Regions from separate parts of the Homo sapiens genome. Here regions 1, 2 and 3 are each linked to region 4. The links are contacts of gene promoters, found by promoter capture Hi-C in human tissues and cell types (Jung and others, 2019). All regions are on one chromosome and are shown on one strand. Each heading gives the region's core, a stretch centred on a gene start or on the middle of the fragment in contact. The rest is flanking DNA. Distances are from core to core; before and after follow the strand shown.

Region 1 (4,909 bases), core at 619-3,118, 1.3 Mb before region 4:
CATACTTTGAGATTGGTTTTATAGAGGGCTGTTCCTTATACTTTGCGATTGGTTTTATAGAGGGCAACTCTGTTCACCCACAAAAGTCTCTTGATGCCATTGCTGGCCAGAACTTGGGTGGGAGAATGGGAACTGTTCAGCAGAGCAGGTGAACAGGTGGTCCTGCCATCCCAGTGGCAGGGGCCCCTTCCTTTCTCCCGCCACTCCCGGAGGAATGACCCTGCATCTTATGCACTCTCTCCGATTCCCCAAATCCCCTAGGTCCCACTGCTTGGGTTTGGGGAGTGGGGCACATCTCTGCTGAGAGCCAGCCCATCAAGCTGTCTGGGTCTCATGGTGGCATATCTTTGTTCCAACTCAATATGGGCATTTTAATCTTTATTTATTTTTAAAATTTAATTTTATTGAATTCAGCTTTAATATTATTGAATTCAGCTACAAGGGAGATAGAATAGGGTGATTGATAGTTAAGAGCATGGGTCTTAAAGTCAGAAAGACAAAGGCTCCAAGTCCAGTTACCAACTTCTGTAATTCTGTAATTCTGGGGGGCGGACTTACCTGTCTGAGTCTTAGTTTCTTCAACTATAAAATGGATGTCCCAGTACTGCCTCCCTGCCAAGGTTGTCTGAGTGAGTCCTCAATAAAAGCTGGTAGTGAGATTAATAGCACTTGATGGCAAAGTTTGTACCCAGTCATGGGTAGGGGAATTGCATCTGCCATCCAGTGGCTGAGGTCAAGTGATGACACCCCAAACTATAGGATCCTGGCAGCTACAGCAGGCATTGCTGCTTCCCTTTCGGAAATCCCAATTGTTGAGGCCCTGGCTGAAGCCCTGTCGAGCCCTTGGTGACCCCACTACCATTTCCTTTATGGTTGGCTTACTCTGCTTTCTTTTGCAATGAATATAGTTTAAAATTTCTTTATGAGTGTTCTCCTATTTGCTGCCTTAGCCTGTCACCCACTATGCTGAGCTCCCCACCCCTCGTGATGCCACTCAGCACCTTTATTTGTGATGTGGGGTATTCTGGGAAACTCTTCACAGGCAACTCAGGGAGCCTGGCCCTCCATCTTATCTCTTAGGAAATCCTCAGGTGTCCCAGGGTTTGGCACCAGAGAAGTGCTGTAGACCCTGTTTTCCAGAAAGCTCCGTGCCTTCACGTGTGGTGAGGGAGTGGCTGCCCAGAGCAGGCGAGGAGGCACTGGGGGTTGCACCCATGTTTTATTATGATGGGGGCTTCAGAAGCCAGATGTCTGCAGCTACTTGGAGCAAGCCTGGGTCTTCCTTAGACTGCAGTTTTAGGACTTAAGGAAGGAGCTGGGCTGCTGCCACATGCTCGTGCTTGTGTGTTTAATTTGTTTATTGGTGGATTTTCTACCCTGCCTCACATCAGAAAGGGCTTGAGGCCCAGGGGTATAATAGGTGAAACTTTTTCTCTTGAACAGTTTTGCCTTTTCCTAACTTCTCCGAGCCTCTGATCTCTAGGAGAGGCTAGTCAGCCCTTGGTTTAGGGGCTCTCCCTTGCTGAGTAGGGTTTTGGCTTTGTTGGGGCTGTCCAAGGGCTCCAGGTTCCACTTTTAGCTGCACAGCTGACTTGTCTCTTGTCCCCAGATGCTCTCCTGGCCCGTGAGGGCCATAGCATCTCAACTCATTTAATCTGGTAGCACTGAGGTGGGCAGTGTTTCTGAGTGTTTTGTGTGAACCCATGAAGAGAAAATGTTAGAACTAGGCTTTATGCCCATGGAGTGATTCTTCTACAGTTTCTTAGTTCTATTAAATTTTAAAAATATCTTATTGCTTCCACAGAAGAGAAATTTTTAGAATATGGGAAGAGCGAATATAACATTTTGTTCAATATTAAAAGTTAATTTAAGACAGAACCAGAGGCCAAGACAAGTGTCTTCTCTTTTCTTCATTTGGTGATATAATTGACCCTTTGTACCTGCGTACAACTTAATATTCATTCAGCAGAGGCTAATTATGGGATGCGTAGATGCCACATGGTTAAGGTGAAGATGCAGATTTCTGTGTGAGCTGCTTAATTCTGACGGTTATAACTTGTCCATAAAATTTGCTATGGATTGTAACAAGTGGAATATTAACTCGGAATATGGGGAGGTCAGGAGTATCTCCCATCTGCTTCCTTTCTGAAGGGATCCTAGCTGAACTGAGTGGGGGGTATGTTGTGCACAGTTAATATGTTGTTGACACTTGAACAACTCAAGGGTTACGGCCCCCCTGCACAGTTGAAAATCTGCGTATAACTTTTGAGTACCCCAAAATGTAACTACTTAACCTATCATCAACTAGAGCCTACTGATAACATCAACAGTTGATTACACATGCTTTATATATGTATTATATACTGCATTTTTACAATAAAGTAAGCTAGACAAAAGAAAATGTTAAGAAAATCATGGCTGAGTGCAGTAGCTCATGCTTGTAAACCCAGTACTTTGGAAGGCCAAGGCGGGCAGATGGACTGAGCTCAGAAGTTCGAGACAGCCTGGATAACATGGTGAAACCCTGTCTTTACAAAAAATAAAAAAAAAAAAATTAGCCTGGGCATGGTGGCTCATGCCTGTAGTCCCAGCTACTCAGGATACTGAGGTGGGAGGATGACTTGAACCCAGGATGCAGAGGTTACATTGAGGCAAGATCATGCCACTGCACTCAAGCCTGGGTGACAGAGCAAGACCTTGTCTCAAAAAAAAAAAAAAAAAGGAAAATCATAAGGAAGAGAAAATATATTTACTATTCTTTAAGTGGAAGTGGATCATCATAAAGGACTTCAGACTTGTTATCTTCACATTGAGTGGGCTGATGAGAAGGAAGAAGAGGGATGGTTTTGCTGTCTCAGGGGTGCAGAGGTGGAAGAAAATCCACATATAAGTGGACCCACATGGTTTACACTTGTGTTGTTCAAGGTTTGACTGTACGTTCTGAGCCCAAAATTGGAACACATGCCCTAAGGCCCTGTCCTGGATCATTTTATATATGTGTATGGTCAGGCTTACAAAGATAGAAAAATGGAATTCCATTTTCTTACATATTTCTACAAATTATTTTGGTCAAAATCTAGAAAATACATAAAACTGAGGTCTCCTGGAAAAGCCAGAATTTATCTCTGGGATTGGGATAATTGGCTATTAGGAAAGGGGTCTACCTTGTTGGCCTGTGGTCTTGACTTTTCCTTCTGGAACTGAGAATATGTGAATGGCTCGTGGAACTGCACGGAACCCAGTGGTGGGCAGTATCTTTGTAAACAAAATGAGGTTGGCTTTCAATGGCCAGGGAATGAATGTGGAACCAAATTGCAGTTTGTAGAAACAGAGCTGGGCTCAGACATTTAAATTAAACGTATATTTCTATTTGCACTTCCATTTTGTTCGGTAATAGTGTTGGATATGGGAAATCTTGTCTTTGTTTATATTTGAGGGAACTGCAGCCTTCATTTCCTAAACGGAAGATCCTGTGGCATTCCTGCAATGGAAGCTCACCAGATGATCAGAAAAGGGAGAGATGGCGAAGTAACTTGTCTCTGGTTACCCTCCCATTGTGGAAATTAATATCTGACCCAATTCTGTTTGCCCAGTGAGTTTATGGCTTGCTAAGTGGCTGTTGTAATGATCCGTCAACTGTTGCAACAGCATTTTCTAACAATTTTATTTTACAGTTCTGAAGTTTTAGTCCATAAATTTTTTGAACTTAAGGCTTTGAGTTGGAGGAGCCATGTGGTTCTAGGGGGGAAAAAAGTGCCAGATTTATTCTTTATGTCTGTGAGCTGTGCCTTCCCCCCATTCTTTTCCCTCTTTACATGCCACCCCTCTGATATTTTCTACTTGAAAAAAAAATTCATACTAAAGTGCTTGTCTTTGTATAATGCTACTCATAGAATATTTGTATGAAAAAAGAGTCAGGAGATGCGATGTTCAACCCAAGTGCATGAATTATGATTATAAAGTTTCCATTTAAAAATGAAGGCTGTTGGAACCCTTACGTGTTGCTGATGGAAATATAAAATGGTGTAGCCACTGTACAAAGCACTGTGGTAGTTTCTCAAAAAATTAAACATAGATTTATTGTGTGGTCAGCAGTTCTACTTCTGGTTATATACATGAGAGATTTGGAGGCAGGGACTTGAACAGACATGTGTATACCCACATACATTGCAGCATTATTCACAATAGCCAAAAGGTGGAAACAACCCAAATGTCCATTGATACACGAATGGATAAACAAAATGTGATAGACATATGATTAAATAGTATTCAGCCTTGAAAAGGAAGGCAATTCCGATAGATGCTACAATGTGGATGGACCTTGAAGACGTGCTAAGTGAAATCAGCCTGTTACAAAAGGAGATTATGGCTCCTCCTATATGAGGTTCCTAGAGCAGTCAAATCCATAGAGCTCCCCACCCCTTATGACATCACTCAGCAACTTTATTTATTAGGTCACAAGGGGGTGGGGAGCTCTGTGACAAAAAGAGCTCTGTGACAGAAAGAGTGGCGATTTTATGTTATGGATATTTTACCACTGTAAAAACATAATAGGCTGGGCATGGTAGCTCACGTCTATAATCCCAGCCCTTTGGGAGGCTGAAGTGGGCAGATCACTTGAGGTCAGGAGTTCGAGACCAGCATGGCCAACACGGAGAAACCCTGTCTCTACTAAAAAGTAAAGAAATTAGCTGGGTGTGGTGGCGCACGCCTGTAATCCCAGCTACTCAGGAGGCTGAGGGATGAGAATTGCTTGAGCCTGGGAGGCAGGGGTTGTAGTGAGCCGAATTGGCACCACTGCACTCCAGCCTGGGCAACAGAGTGAGATTCTGTCTGAAACAACAACAGCAGCAGCAACAACAACAACAACAAACAACAACAACAACAACAAACAACAACAACAACAAAA
Region 2 (4,900 bases), core at 1,193-3,692, 1.9 Mb after region 4:
CACTTGAATAATTATACATCTTTTCATTACTGAGTAGCAGGGTGACCAGGCTTAAGACCCTTCTTTAGTGGGAAGATGACCTTGAATTTACCCTCTTCTTGTATTTCTCTGGTGAAGATAAATGTGAAATATCACCTCTGTTGTAAGACAGCATTGCTTATTGTAGAATGATCCCTGAATGGAATTGCATCTTGGTAGGGAAGTTGTTGAATGGACTGTACATTTCTATTCGGAAGCACAGGCCTTGGCTTCCTTGTATGCATGCAGTTTGTCTTGTGTAGGGACCAAGAAACTGTAGTCATGTGCTATTTATTACATTGGTTTCTGTGACACATGAAGCTTACCTAAGCTAGACCCTGTCGTCTTGCTTACAACTGAGCCATCACTTGGGAGATGGAAAAATGGCTTCTGGCTGTCTGAATCACTGCTGAAGACAATATCCTTGAAGCTGCTATGGTGGCATACTCTATTTCCTGCCCAGTATTCTGCAAAGTTAGATGAACCTCCTTTCAGGCTATAGTCTATTTGATCTTGTGATTGTGAAGGTGAGAATATATCTGACATCTCTGCTGGTTGTCATGCTAAGTGGGCTTTGCAAATTATAAACAGAATTCTTCCATATATTTGGGTCTTTTCTGGGCTATAATTTTTTTCCTGCTTATTTACCAGTATTATAATTTTTAAAACGGAGACTTTATTATAATTTTAAATATTGGTAGGCCTGATTCCTTCTCATTAATCTTCCTTTTAAAAAATACTTTTCTTGGGGCCGGGCACAGTGGCTTACGCTTATAATCCCAGCACTTTGGGAGCCTGAGGCGGGCGGATCACCGGAGGTCAGGAGTTCGAGACAAGCCGGGCCAACATGGCGAAACCCTATCTCTACTAAAAATACAAAAATATTATCCAGGCGTAGTGGCATGTTCCCGTAATCCCAGCTACTCGGGAGGCTGAGGGAGGAGAATCTCTTGAACCTGGGAGGCAGAGGTTGCAGTGAGCCAAGATCCTGCCTCTGCACTCCAGCCTGCCCAACAAGAGTGAAAACTGTCTCAAAAAAAATAAAATAAAATAAAGCAGCTGGCTGCGGCACTTGTAATCCTAGCGCTTTGGAGGCCAAGATGGGAGGATCACTTGAGGTTAGAAGTTTGAGACCAACCTGTTCAACATAGCGGGACCTCCATCTCTAAAAAATTTTTTTATAATTATAAATAAATAAAATAAATGAACAAAAAAGGAAATAATTATTTTCTACAGAAGAAATTACCCTTTTGTGTTTTAAAAATACCTTTCTTGACTATTCTTTCTTGTTTGTTTTTTTACTTGAATTTTAAAATTATATTTTATTTGATTTTAATAATGTTTTTAGAAAGAGTTTTTTGGCTTTATTACCAAAAACACCATCTGGACAGTTGGGCAGATACTCCGCTATTTTGGAGCAGGTAACTTTTTGCAAAAATTGAGCTATTTTATTATAAGTTATTTCCTTGCTTCCCTCTGTCCCGGCCTAGGCAACGGGCCAGCATTTTGTTTTTCCAGCCTTCTGTTGCTGCTCAGTCAGCTCTCTGCGTGTCAGGCTGTTCCTTTTTACATGCCTTTTAATCATATAGGACAACAACAGGAAGTGCAGTAAAAGCATCTTTTATAACATTGCTTTGGTTTTTTGTTACTAGATGTTGAAACTTCTATGTTTTAACCAGTATCATTATTTGTCTTTTTGTTTCTCAGAAACACAGATCATAATATCTTTGAATATTAAGTGTCGAGAGAGCTGCTCGTCTAGTTATGTTGGAAGCAGCTACTGTAAATTACTTAGGTACTAAGCCTTACCTTGTAAGGAGAAGGTTTAGCAAAGAATAATAGAGCTTTAAGATGGTATTAAGGCAGAATGTTGGCATCTTATAACTCTTGTGTTTCATGGATTCTTGTGAATGGCAAGTTTAGTCTTTACTCTGCTGTTGACTTTTGAGAGTCATCATTGAAGAAAGCTTAATACAACAAAATGAATGCCTTTGATATTTTAACTCTTGTTATGATCAACCTATTTATATCAGAACTTATTTAAACTAGTTCTTGGCTGGGCATGGTGGCTCACGCCTGTAATCCCAGCATGTTGGGAGGCCCGGATGGGAGGATGGCTTGAGCCCAGGAGTTTAAGACCAGCCTGGCAAACATAGTGAGATCTGTTCTCTACAAAAAAATTACATGCCTTTGGTCCCAGCTATTTGGGAAGCTGAGGTGGGAGCATCACTTGAGCCTGGGAAGTCAAAGCTGTGGTGAGCCACGATCACACCACTGCACTGCAGCCTGGGCAACAGAACGACACCCTGTCTCAAAACCAAATGAAAACTAGTTCTCAAAAGGGATGGTAGGCTGGGCATGGTGACTCATGCCTGTAAGACTAGCACTTTGGGAGGCTGAGGCAGGCAGATTACTTGAGGCCAGGAGTTCGAGACCAGCCTGGCTAATATGGTTAAACCCCGTCTCTACTAAAAATAAAAAAATTAGCCGGGCATTGTGGCGGGTGCCTGTAATCCTAGCTACTCAGGAGGCTGAGGCTGCAGTGAGTTAAGATCACACCACTGCACTCCAGCCTAGGTAACAGAGCGAGACTGTCTCCAAAAAAAAAAGGGTGGGGGGATGGTGAATGAGCAACTTTCTGGAATTTCTCTTCTTTGTTAACACCCACAATGTTTTCTGGTCATTCTCTACTTGTTTCAGTCTTCCTCTGGACTGTTCAGTATACTCACCACTAGCCACAAATGGCTGTTTAAATTAATAAAAATTAAATTTAAAAAATCAATTCCCATTTGAAGTAAAGCTCATTTCGGTCATGCCAGGCATAGTTTGAGAGACCATCTCTAATGTTTTGATTATCAGTGTTTTTTCCTAAAGAACTAATCATATTTCAGGCCGGGCGCGGTGGCTCACGCCTGTAATCCCAGCACTTTGGGAGGCCGAGGTGGGTGGATCACGAGGTCAGGAGATCGAGACCATCCTGGCTAACCTGGTGAAACCCCGTGTCTACTAAAAATACAAAAAATTAGCCAGGCATGGTGGCAGGTGCCTGTAGTCCCAGCTACTCATAGTCCCAGCTACTCGGGAGGCTGAGGCAGGAGAATGGCATGAACCCGGGAGGCGGAGCTTGCAGTGAGCTGAGATCGCACCACTGCACTCCAGCCTGGGTGACAGAGCCAGACTCTGTCTCAAAAACAAAAAAAAAAACCTAATCATATTTCCAAGTTTTAGGCATTTCTTTTGCTCCTATGACACATTTTAGGAGGGTTTTCTTACTCTTGTAACTCCCAAATCTATATGTCTACAGCTGATCTATTTCACAAAGTCTAGTCTCAAACTTTGAATTACAGAAATACCTAAATATATAGTATTTTCTGTATATTGCTGAAATCATATTAAAACTGCCAACAATTAGCTGGGCATGGTGGCACATGCCTGTATTCTCAGCTACTCAGGAGACTGAGGTGGGAGGATCACTGCAGCCCAGGAGGAAGTCAAGCCTGCAGTGAACCATGAGTGCACCACTGCACTCCAGCCTGGGCGACAGAGACCCTGTATCAGAAAACAAAAAACAGGCTGGGCGCTGTGGCTCACACCTGTAATCCCAGCACTTTGGGAGACTGAAGTGGGAGGATGGCTTAAGCCCAGGACCAGCCCAGGCAACATAGTGAGACCCCGTCTCCTCAAAAAAGAAAAAATTAGGCAGGCGTGGTGGCCCACGTGGTGGCTCCCAGCACTTTGGGAGGCTGAGGTCAAGAGTTCGAGACCAGCCTGGCCAACATGGTGAAACCCTGTCTCTACTAAAAATACAAAAATTAGCAGGCGTGGTAGCGTGTGCCTGTAGTTCCAGCTACTTGGGAGGCTGAGGCAGAATAATCGCTTGAACCCAGGAGGCGGAAGTTGCAGTGAGTCGAGATGGTGCCACTGCACTCCAGTCTGGACAACAAGAGCAAAACTCCATCTCAAAATAAATAAATAAAAATAAACAAAAAAACTGGCTGGGCACGGTGGCTGACGTCAGCCTGTAATCCCATCACTTTGGGAGGCCGAGGTGGGCAGATCACTTGAGGTTGGGAGTTCAAGACCAGCCTGGCCAACATGCTGAAACCCCATCTCTGCTAAAAATACAAAAATAGCCAGGCATGGTAGCATACGCCTGTAATCCAAGCTACTCGGGAGGCTTAGGCAGGAGAATCGCTTGAACCCAGGAGGTGGAGGTTGTGGTGAGCTGAGATCACACCATTGTGCTCCAGCTTGGGCAACAGAGTGAGACTCCATCTCAAAAACAACAACAACAACAAAAATTAAAACTGAAGTTCTGCTGTTTCGCCCGTCCTCAACATAAACACTCAGAACCCTATAACCTTTCCTTTTTAATTGCTTATATCACAATTTAATGCCTATTTATTTATTTATTTATTGAGACAAGAGTCTCGCTCTGTCATCCAGGCTGGAGTACAGTGGTGTGATTCTCGGCTCACTGCAGCCTCTGCCTCCCGAGTTCAAGCAGTTCTCTCTCCACTTAGATAAGGCCTTCTGTCAACCCCCAATTGTTTACTAATTAGGTAGTGTTGCTTTTTTTTTGACATGGTATTTATACTTACTTTTCTTCACATTACATTCATTTGGTTATACTGCCTATTCCAGTAATCTCAAAATTTTCCACTTTGAATCTACCCTAATTCCTCTCTGAACAGGAATTTTGGCTTATGCATCTTTGTATTTGAAACACATAAGACATTATTTTGTAATAATGTAGTCTTATTTTATTAGTGATTTAATATACTGAGCTATCTTAGTTGTTGTATTTTAATCATTTAGATTATTTATGTGAACTCTTTATTTTTAGTGTAATGAACAAGTCTGGGGTGAATCGTGTAGTTTG
Region 3 (4,456 bases), core at 1,280-3,779, 1.6 Mb after region 4:
AAATAACAAGTATGCAATGATCATACAAATGCATGATAATAAATGATATGCTGAGAAAGTACTCAATGAGCCTCCCATATTTGTTATTGTTAGTTTTTGAACTGCAAGGTGGTAGGAGGTGTTCCTTATAATTTTCATTTTGCAAATTTATCCCTTGATTTAACCCATCACCACTATGACTGCTGCTGTCACTCACTAATTCACCAAAAACTGGGTAAATAATTATCTTGTTTTTATCAATCTTTCTTAGATCTGTTTATAGTTCACATTTATTTCAAAGCTTAATATTAGAAGTGCTTGGGGTCTTTATTTAGAAGTTTGGTGATATTTTTGTGACTAGAAATATGCTGTAGGAACTTAACTCTTGTTTGCCTATGGTAAAATTAGTTTTGTTCTATACCCTTTCACTTAAAGTTGCAGTTTCCAAGAACCTAAAGACAACATTAAGTGAGTACTAACTGTACAAGAAGTTAAAGGCATCTGGAACTGTAATACATTATGAACAAAAGAATCTTTGACTTAAGAGACCTGTTGTTCATATTACAATGCTATCAGAACCATCAATTACTAGATAACCATCCATCATTAGTATTCCTCTTGCCTTTGAAAATGACTTTTTGGCTATAGCAATATGGTTTTAAAAGATACAGGAATAGGCTGGGTGCGGTGGCTCATGCCTGTAATCCCAGCACTTTGGGAGGCTGAGGCAGGTGGATCACCTGAGGTCAGGAGTTCGAGAGCAGCCTGGCCAACATGGTGAAACCTAGTCTCTACTAAAAATACAAAAAAATTAGCTGGGTGTGGTGGCGGGTGCCTGTAATCCCAGCTACTCAGGAGGCTGAGGCATGAGAATCATTTGAACCCAGGAGGCGGAGGTTGAAGTGAGCCAAAATCACGCTATTACACTCCAGCCTGGGTGACAAGAGCAAGACTTTAAAAAAAAAAAAAAATACAGGAATAAATCATAGCATAATCATAATGGAATACTATGCAGAGGATAAAAAGACTAAGTTAATCTATATATAATTTTCTATCTAGCATATGAAAGATGCTTAGTAAACATTTTACTAAGTTTATGAAGTAAACATTTATTTACTAAGCATCTTTCATATGCTAGATAGAAAATTATATACAGATTTAGGAAAATTCAGAAAAAAATTATTGCATAATCGCTTATACAGTATTATTCAATTTTTAAATATAGAACACACACACAATACATATAAATTTCTCCTACACTTGATAGTAGTCAGAATAGTATATCTTCCCCTCTAACATCCATTGAGAATAACTAAAATTTTAATTCTTAAAACAAAACAAAAAAAACCCAGAAGAACTGCAAGCTCTGCCACATCATGTATCTCAGTCATGAGGAGGCAAAAGAGAAACATGTCACATAACTTAATGAACTCTACGGGTGAGGATATGATCTGATAAATTTCAACTCATTCAGGAGTTTTACACTGAACAGTCACGACTAAAATTCCAGGACAGAAAAATGAAGAATGCCAACAGAGGGAGAAGCTATGTTGAACATAGGCTATATTTCAAAATGCTACTTGTTTATCTTTGAAGTAATAATTGTCAATGATTCTGCACTGATGACAAAATTAACAGCTAGTGTAAACCCATTTTAATTTTATAGGACTCAGCATCTAGAACAGATAGGAAAATCACAGTGAAATATGAAAATGTAATAACTTCTATTAATTTTATTGTTTGAAAATCTAAAATGCTACTAATAAAACTAAAATAAAGGCTGTTTAAAAAGTACAAATGTAGGCCAGGCACGGTGGCTCACACTTGTAATCCTAGCACTTTGGGAGGCCAAGGCGGGTGGATCACTTAAGGTCAGGAGTTTGAGACCAGCCTGGGTAACATGGCAAAACCCGTCTCTACTAAAAATACAAAAATTAGCCAGGTGTGGTGGTGCAAGCCTGTAATCCCAGCTACTTGGAAGGCTGAGGCAGGAGCATCACTTGAACCCAGGACGTAGAGGTTCCAGTGAGCCGAGATCATTCCACTGCACTCCAGCCTGGGTGACAGAGCAAGACTATCTCAAAAAAACAAAAATAAAAACAAAAACAAAAACAAAAAAACAAAAAAAGGACAAATGTAATTTGATATGTGTGATAAATTATTAATACATGGTATAAGAACCTTTTATATCTAACAGAACAAAATATAAAATGCTCAAGATGGTAAAAAGTATTTTTAAGATGATAATCTGATTCTTTTATATAACCACAAATATTCAAGGAACAATTTTCAGGTACACTGACCTCAAAGATATGTTAATACTGTCCAAAAGGAAAGAAACGTCATGAAAAGAAATAATAGATACCACCGTACAGAATCATCATGCATACAATGATGATCAAAAGCCCATTTGCTATACTGACACCTGAGTAATAATTAACACACTGTAAAAACATATAGAGCATTATGCTTAAAATCTAGAACTGTAAATGGATTTTATTTTCTCCCAATTTAATGGATGTTTTACTGACTGCAGTTAGGACTACTGCTAAGCAAGGTATCATATGAACTTTTTCTAAAGCAAATTCACTGACTATATGGCTTATTTATTTTGTTTTATGTATGTATGTATGTATTTATTTATTTGAGACAGAGTTTCACTCTTGTTATTCAGGCTGGAGTGCAATGGTGTCATCTTGGCTCACTGCAACCTCCGCCTCCCAGGTTCAAGCAAAGCTCCTGCGTCAGCCTCCTGAGTAGCTGGAATTACAGATGCCCAACACCATGCCCGGCTAATTTTTGTATTTTTAGTAGAGACAGGGTTTCGCCATGTTGGCCAGGCTGGTCTCGAACTCCTGACCTCAGGTGATCCGCCCACTGTGGCCTCCCAAAGTGCTGGGATTACAGGCGTGAGCCACCATGCCCAACCTATATGACTTATTTGTAAATGTCCTCCGTTTAAATGTGGCCCTGATTTTCAAAATAGTGTCAGCTGATCACTTGCTCTGTTCTACTTGAATCTTTGGAGGTTTCTCCATAGTTTGGTATAAAGTTCAACTCCTGAGTTTTGTACCCAAGGCCCTTCAAGATACGTCTCCAATCCAGGTCTACAGCCTTCAATATATGAATCTGTTATTCCAGCCACATCAGAATATTTGCAGTTCTAGGACTACACAGGATGTTTTACTGTACAGTCCTATACAGTAATAATGTCTTCTATTCTACCCCTAGTTGTTACCTCTTTTAGGAATCACCTTTCAACTTTTTACTTCTGTTAACCATAATTAACTAATTATTAAAGTGCCACATCCCAGCAGAAATCTTCTGGACTTTCAAAGTTCAATTTACATGGTTCCCTTTCTATCCTCTCACCGTAATACTTGGTGCTAACCTTTTTTTTTTTCCAGACAAGTTCTCATTCTGTTGCTCAGCCTGTAGTGCAGTGGTGTAATCATGGCACACTGCAGCCTTGACCTCCCAGGCTCAAATGATCCTCTCGCCTCAGCCTCCCTTGTAGCTGGAACTATAGACATGTGCTACTGTGCCTGGCTACGTTTTTTCTTTTTTTAGAGATAGAGTCTCGTTATGTTACCCAGGCTGGTCGAGAGCTCCTGGGCTCAAGTGATTCTCCCACCTCAGCCTTCCAAAGTGCTGGGATTATAGATGAGAACTACCATGCCCAGCCTCAACTTCTAACATAGCCCTGATCACACTTGTCTATCTTTACCTGTATACTACAAACTATCCAAGGGTAACATCTAGATCTCTTGAGCCACTACAGAGTATCATTAAATAGTCAACAGATGAATTAGATAAAACAGAGAAGAGTTGGAAGTCAGAAAAAGAATGAGTAATGTTGGTACAATCTAGTCACCAGCGAATATGGTTAATAGGCTTGGTTAAAAAACCCAAGTTCTATCCCAAACTATTACTATTTCATTATCATGGTTACATGGAAATGAAGCAGCTAAATGATCTTGTTTAATGTTCACAGAAGAGCCAGAAGTAGAAACTCCATCTAACATAAAAGGCGACAGCAAAAATACCTACATACTTATGAAACACTTAGAAAAAAGGTGTTCAAAATTTTATCTCTACACAAGGCATTTTCTAACAGAAACTTTTCCTGGTTTTTGTTCTCATACACACGAAATAGAAGTCGATACCTTAGTTTCTGGCAGAGAGGAGAAAGAAGGGGACTGAATTGTCAAAGCTCTAGCCTGAAACTCATTTCTATTATTTGTTTCTATTGAGAATCAGTTAATAGGGCCATTAACAATTTCTTCTGAAATTGTGATTGAAGAAAGAAAAAAAACTGACGTTCTTTATTTATTCTAAACCTCTATTTAATAACACCATTGTGGTGTAGATCCTACCAATCTGCGACTTGGTACATGTCAATGCTTCAGTAGAAAGACTCCAATTTATGCAAATGTGTCTCATACAGGTAATTTATTTTCAATTTCACAGGGACACA
Region 4 (4,814 bases), core at 2,302-4,801:
CAACTGAATATGCGCATTAGAATGCTGTAAAAACTGAGAAACAGACTCAGATTTATTATGTACTTTTTTGTGTGATAAGTACTGTATATGTGTTAATTTAATCTTGACCAAAACCCCAGGAGATATTATCTTCTACTTGCAGGTGAGGAGACTGAGTAACTTGCTGAAGGTCACATAGTTGGTAACTTCCAGACATGTGATACAAATCCAAATCTGTGTGACTCCGCAGCCCATGCTGGTTTGCCCATAGCAATGTCTCTCAAATTTTTTCATGAAGTAACCTCAAGTTGCAAGAAAAACCAAAACATATTCCCGGGGGGGGTTTGGGAGATTACTGAAGTATCCAGTTTAAGCCTGATGTGTCTCTGACCTCATACTTTTCTCTTAAATTTTATTTTTATATTTGCATTTTACCCCCACATTTTGTTTTTATTTCTATACATATATTTTTTTTTGAGATGGAGTCTCGCTCTGTCACAGAGGCTGGAGTGCAGTGGCATGATCTTGGCTCACTGCAAGCTCTGCCTCCCGGGTTCACACCATTCTCCTGCCTCAGCCTCCCAAGTAGCTGGGACTACAGGTGCCTGCCACCACACCCGGCTAATTTTTTGTATTTTTAGTAGAGATGGGGTTTCACCGTGTTAGCCAGGATAGTCTATCTCCTGATCTCGTGATCCGCCCACCTCGGCCTCCCAAAGTGCTGTGAAACAGGCGTGAGACATCACGCTCAGCTAATTTATTTATTTTTAGAGGGAGTCTCTCTCTGTTTCCAGGCTAGAGTGCAGTGGCCTGATCTCACTCACTGCAACCTCTGCCTCCTGGGTTCAAGCTATTCTCCTGCCTCAGCCTCCTAAGTAGCTGGGACTATAGGCACACATCAACATGCCCAGCTAATTTTTGTGTTTTTAGTAGAGACAGGGTTTCGTCATGTTGGCCAGGATGGTCTTGATCTCTTGACCTCATGATCCACCCGCCTTGGCCTCCCAAAGTGCTAGGATTACAGGAGTGAGCCACCGTGCCCGGCCTACCCCATGTTTTATTAAAGTTTATTTTCTTTTTCAAAAATTTTAATGATTTATCCACACTACACAGATGTAATGTCTGCTTAATATAAACCATTTCAAATGACTTAGGTAAATCATTTAACTCTTCCCTCCCTGAAAGATTTTTTTTGAGAAAAGTGATTACACAAGAAGGTGCACCTTCCATATTTATCCCATAGCTTTGTTTAGTTCCTAGTGCGTGGTTTCAAAAACCTGGATCCCAGTTTGAAAGCATGACTACAGAGCAAATTGCATTAAAGACATCTTAAGAATGATGATGAAAATAATTATTATAGGCAAGGGCCAGAAGATTTTTTTTTTTTTTTTTTCTGAGATGGAGTCTCGCTCTGTCGCCCAGGCTGGAATGTGGTGGCGTGATCTAGGCTCACTGCAAGCTCCGCCTCCTGGGTTCATGCAATTCTCCTGCCTCAGCCTCCCGAGTAGCTGGGACTACAGGCGCCCACCACCGCACCCAGCTAATTTTTTGTATTTTTAGTAGAGACGGGGTTTCATCATGTTAGCCAGGATGGTCTCGATCTCCTGACCTTGTGATCTGCAGAAGATATTAATAGCACTTAAATTATACAGCTATAGATAGAGTTGAGTGGGGGTTTTTTTGTTTTTTTTATTTTGCTTTGTTTTGTTTTTGAGATGGAGTCTCGCTCTGTCGCCCAGATTGGAGTGGAGTTACGCAATCTCAGCTCACTGCAACCTCAACCTCCCGGGCTCAATTGGTTCTCCCACCTCAGCCTCCCAAGTAGCTGGGACTAGAGGCATGTACCACCATGCTGGCTAATTTTTGTATTTTTTGTAGAGATGGGGTTTTGCCCTGTTGCCCAGGCTGGTCTCAAACTCCTGAGATCAAGCGATGTGCCCTCTTTGGCCTCCCAAAGTGCTTGGATTCCAGGCTTAAGCCACTGTGCCAGGCCAAAGTAGTTTTGAACTTTCCACTGTCAACGAAAGAAATTCTAAACACGACTGATTCCACTGAGTTTGACCAAACTAACTGAAGACTTATTGTTGAATGTGGTAATACCATGTTTTTTCTTCACCCAAGAATCTGGGTGCTTTATAAGCATAAGCATGAAATCTCCCTGAAGATAGTATTTATGCATCCACTGAGCGCTCAAATATAGACCATATTAGAAGTTAAGCAATGGGTTGAGTGGCCAACCACATTTTGGCCAGTCCTACAAGACTTTCTTTGACCTACCAAATGGGGTATAAATGCTTCTCGTATTCTCCCCGCCAGTAGGGACTCAAAATCTTAATAGCTCGGGGTAGTAAAAAGGATGCTAGGTTTGAATCTTGGCTTTAAGAAAACTGTGCTGAGGTGTTTTGTTTGTTTGAGACAGGGTTTCACTCTATCACCCAAGCTGGAGTGCAGTGGCGTGATCATAGCTCACTCCCAGGCTGAAGGGATCCTCCCACCACAGACTTCTGAGTAGCTGGGACGACCGGTGCATGCCACCATGCCCGGCTAATTTTTTGTACTTTTGGTACAGACAGTGTTTCGCCATGTTGTCGAGGCTGGTCTCAAACTCATGAGCTCAAAGAGATCCACCTGCCTCGACCTCCCAAAGTGCTGGGATTACAGGCACGAGCCACTGCGCCCGGCCAGCTTTTTTTCTTTTATCAGAATTGATATTAAACTATATGCTGAGCTTCCATGTCCTTATCTTCCTTTTGGCATGGCTATGGCCATTTGAAATGTGTGGGATTTGCTAAAGTGCTCAACATACGTTGTTTCCTTTTTTAGATCTAAGTATGTAGAGGGCTCTGATTTGCAATATTTAGAAAGTTCTTCTAAGCTGGGAAGAAAAGTCAAGACTAAGAATCATTGCCAACAGGGCCGGGCGCGGTGGCTCACGCCTGTACTCCCAGCATTTTGGGAGGCCGAGGCAGGCGGATCACGAGGTCAGGAGTTCGAGACCAGCCTGGCCAATATGGTGAAACCCCTTCTCTAATAATAATACAAAAATTAGCCGGGCATGGTGGCGTGCGCCTGTAATCCCAGGTACTCAAGAGGCTGAGGCAGGAGACTCACTTGAACCCGGGAGGCGAAGGTTGCAGTGAGCCGACATCGTGCCACTGCACTCCATCATGGGCAACACAGTGAGACTCTGTCTCAAAAAAAAAAAAAAAAAAATCGCCAATAGGTAGGGAATAAGTTACCCCCTGCTAAATAAGTTACACTCACCTAGGCAAGGAAGGAACTCATAAACCACCTTCTAAACTGCTTGCCTTCCTCCCCGAAGTTCTGTAATTTAGAGGCGGTCACTACCACTGCTTGAACACCCCTTCCCAAGTCTGTACCACAAAAGGAGCTCTTGTGTAGCCCAGCCCCTCCTTCTCAGGACCCCAGGAGCCCAGACACACTAATGGGGACATTAGTTGCTTACTTTTCCAGCTACTGCTTAAGCTAGGCAGGCCATGAAGAAATAACGGTCTCAGTAACCTCCATGCTCGGGATACGACTCCCGGGAAGACGTGGGTGGGTGCGGGGAATGCGGACTGATCCCTCCCAGCGGCCGTTGGGGGCTGGCCCACAATCCCTCGCGAGGGCGGGAAAAGCAATGTGGTCGTTGCGGGGGGGGGGGGTCAGAAAAGGGGGACGGTCAGCGGGAAGAGCCAAGAGACTGCAACTCTACAAAGAGCACGCAGATTAATTCTAATGATTGTTCCCTGAGCTTTTCACACCAAAATAATGGTAACTGGCTAGTGTGTGCCCGTTACGCTCACTACTCCCACTCGAGATCATTCCTATTAATGACTCTGAGGCTTCACCTAACAGGCCACGGTGGAGGCAAGGAAATGTGGCGTGGAGAACCCACTGGGCCTGGCTCTCCGTCCTATGGTCTCCGTCCATCGTTTTACAGTCAGGGTGTACATTTGATGAGGAATCTCTAAATGGGATTTTGGGGAATCAAAACGGAATGGTGCATAAGTGTGAAAATTTACAAGACTGCGCAAAGCTGCAAGGCCCGGAGCCCCGTGCGGCCAGGCCGCAGAGCCGGCCCCTTCCGCTTTACGTCTGACGTCACGCCGCACGCCCCAGCGAGGGCGTGCGGAGTTTGGCTGCTCCGGGGTTAGCAGGTGAGCCTGCGATGCGCGGGAAGACGTTCCGCTTTGAAATGCAGCGGGATTTGGTGAGTTTCCCGCTGTCTCCAGCGGTGCGGGTGAAGCTGGTGTCTGCGGGGTTCCAGACTGCTGAGGAACTCCTAGAGGTGAAACCCTCCGAGCTTAGCAAAGGTAACGACTCCTGATGGCAAGCTGAGGCACACCGGCCGCCGTCAGCGCCGCCTCAGTCTTCGTTCTCTCGCCTCGGCCTTCAGCCCAGTCTCCGTTAGATTCTGCTTCCTCCCACGTCCATGTTTACAGCGTGAAAGAGCTCCTCGACTCCACTTACAAGTTGTCTGAATGGTTAGGAGAACTGTGGTCGTGAAAACATTTACTAATTGCTTTTCCTCTGGCAATGCCTGCTGAATGCTTTGAGGATTGTCTCATTTAACCCTCAACCCGCTTACGTAGATTATTATATTCAGTATATGGATGAGAGAACTGATATCTTGGGGAGCTTAGGTAACTTTTCATGCTAACTGGGTTAGGAAATACTGGAGTCAGAATTGGTTGTCTAATTTTTGCTGTTCCAAGATCCAAGGGGTAAGGGTTAAATTTCAGAAATGCAGGATTTTGTGTAGGACTAGAGACACTAAGAATGAGAAAGAGAGTAGAATCCCCGGAATCTTGAGGAAGCATAGAAAGAATATT

Evidence for each region. Contacts are between HindIII fragments. The study calls those that stand out against the background at their distance.
Region 1: a fragment that was not itself captured here is called in contact with the fragment with the promoter of TEX14 in region 4 in 1 of the 25 tissues and cell types used here (bladder).
Region 2: a fragment that was not itself captured here is called in contact with the fragment with the promoter of TEX14 in region 4 in 1 of the 25 tissues and cell types used here (hippocampus).
Region 3: a fragment that was not itself captured here is called in contact with the fragment with the promoter of TEX14 in region 4 in 1 of the 25 tissues and cell types used here (aorta).

Annotation. Positions count from the first base shown.
Region 1 is chr17:57,358,903-57,363,811 of GRCh38, forward strand. All of the region lies in intron 5 of MSI2 (musashi RNA binding protein 2), which reads left to right. Among named protein-coding and RNA genes, the nearest start is that of MSI2, 100 kb to the left of the region's middle. The HindIII fragment of the contact is 4,832 bases long and covers 1-4,284 here.
Region 2 is chr17:60,628,989-60,633,888 of GRCh38, forward strand. It overlaps PPM1D (protein phosphatase, Mg2+/Mn2+ dependent 1D), which reads left to right. Exons shown (of 6, transcript NM_003620.4): 3 at 4,865-4,900. Among named protein-coding and RNA genes, the nearest start is that of PPM1D, 31 kb to the left of the region's middle. The HindIII fragment of the contact is 6,347 bases long and covers 1-4,900 here.
Region 3 is chr17:60,259,584-60,264,039 of GRCh38, forward strand. The region is part of intron 9 of USP32 (ubiquitin specific peptidase 32); the gene reads right to left. Among named protein-coding and RNA genes, the nearest start is that of CA4, 110 kb to the left of the region's middle. The HindIII fragment of the contact is 5,233 bases long and covers 1-4,456 here.
Region 4 is chr17:58,688,494-58,693,307 of GRCh38, forward strand. TEX14 (testis expressed 14, intercellular bridge forming factor) reads right to left here and starts at 3,552. Exons shown (of 32, transcript NM_031272.5): 1 at 3,446-3,552. IGBP1C (IGBP1 family member C) reads right to left here and starts at 3,552. Exons shown (of 2, transcript NM_001395966.1): 1 at 3,446-3,552. It overlaps RAD51C (RAD51 paralog C), which reads left to right and starts at 4,109. Exons shown (of 9, transcript NM_058216.3): 1 at 4,109-4,295. The coding sequence starts at 4,151. RefSeq lists enhancers at 3,867-3,966, 4,297-4,466. The HindIII fragment of the contact is 12,262 bases long and covers 1-4,814 here.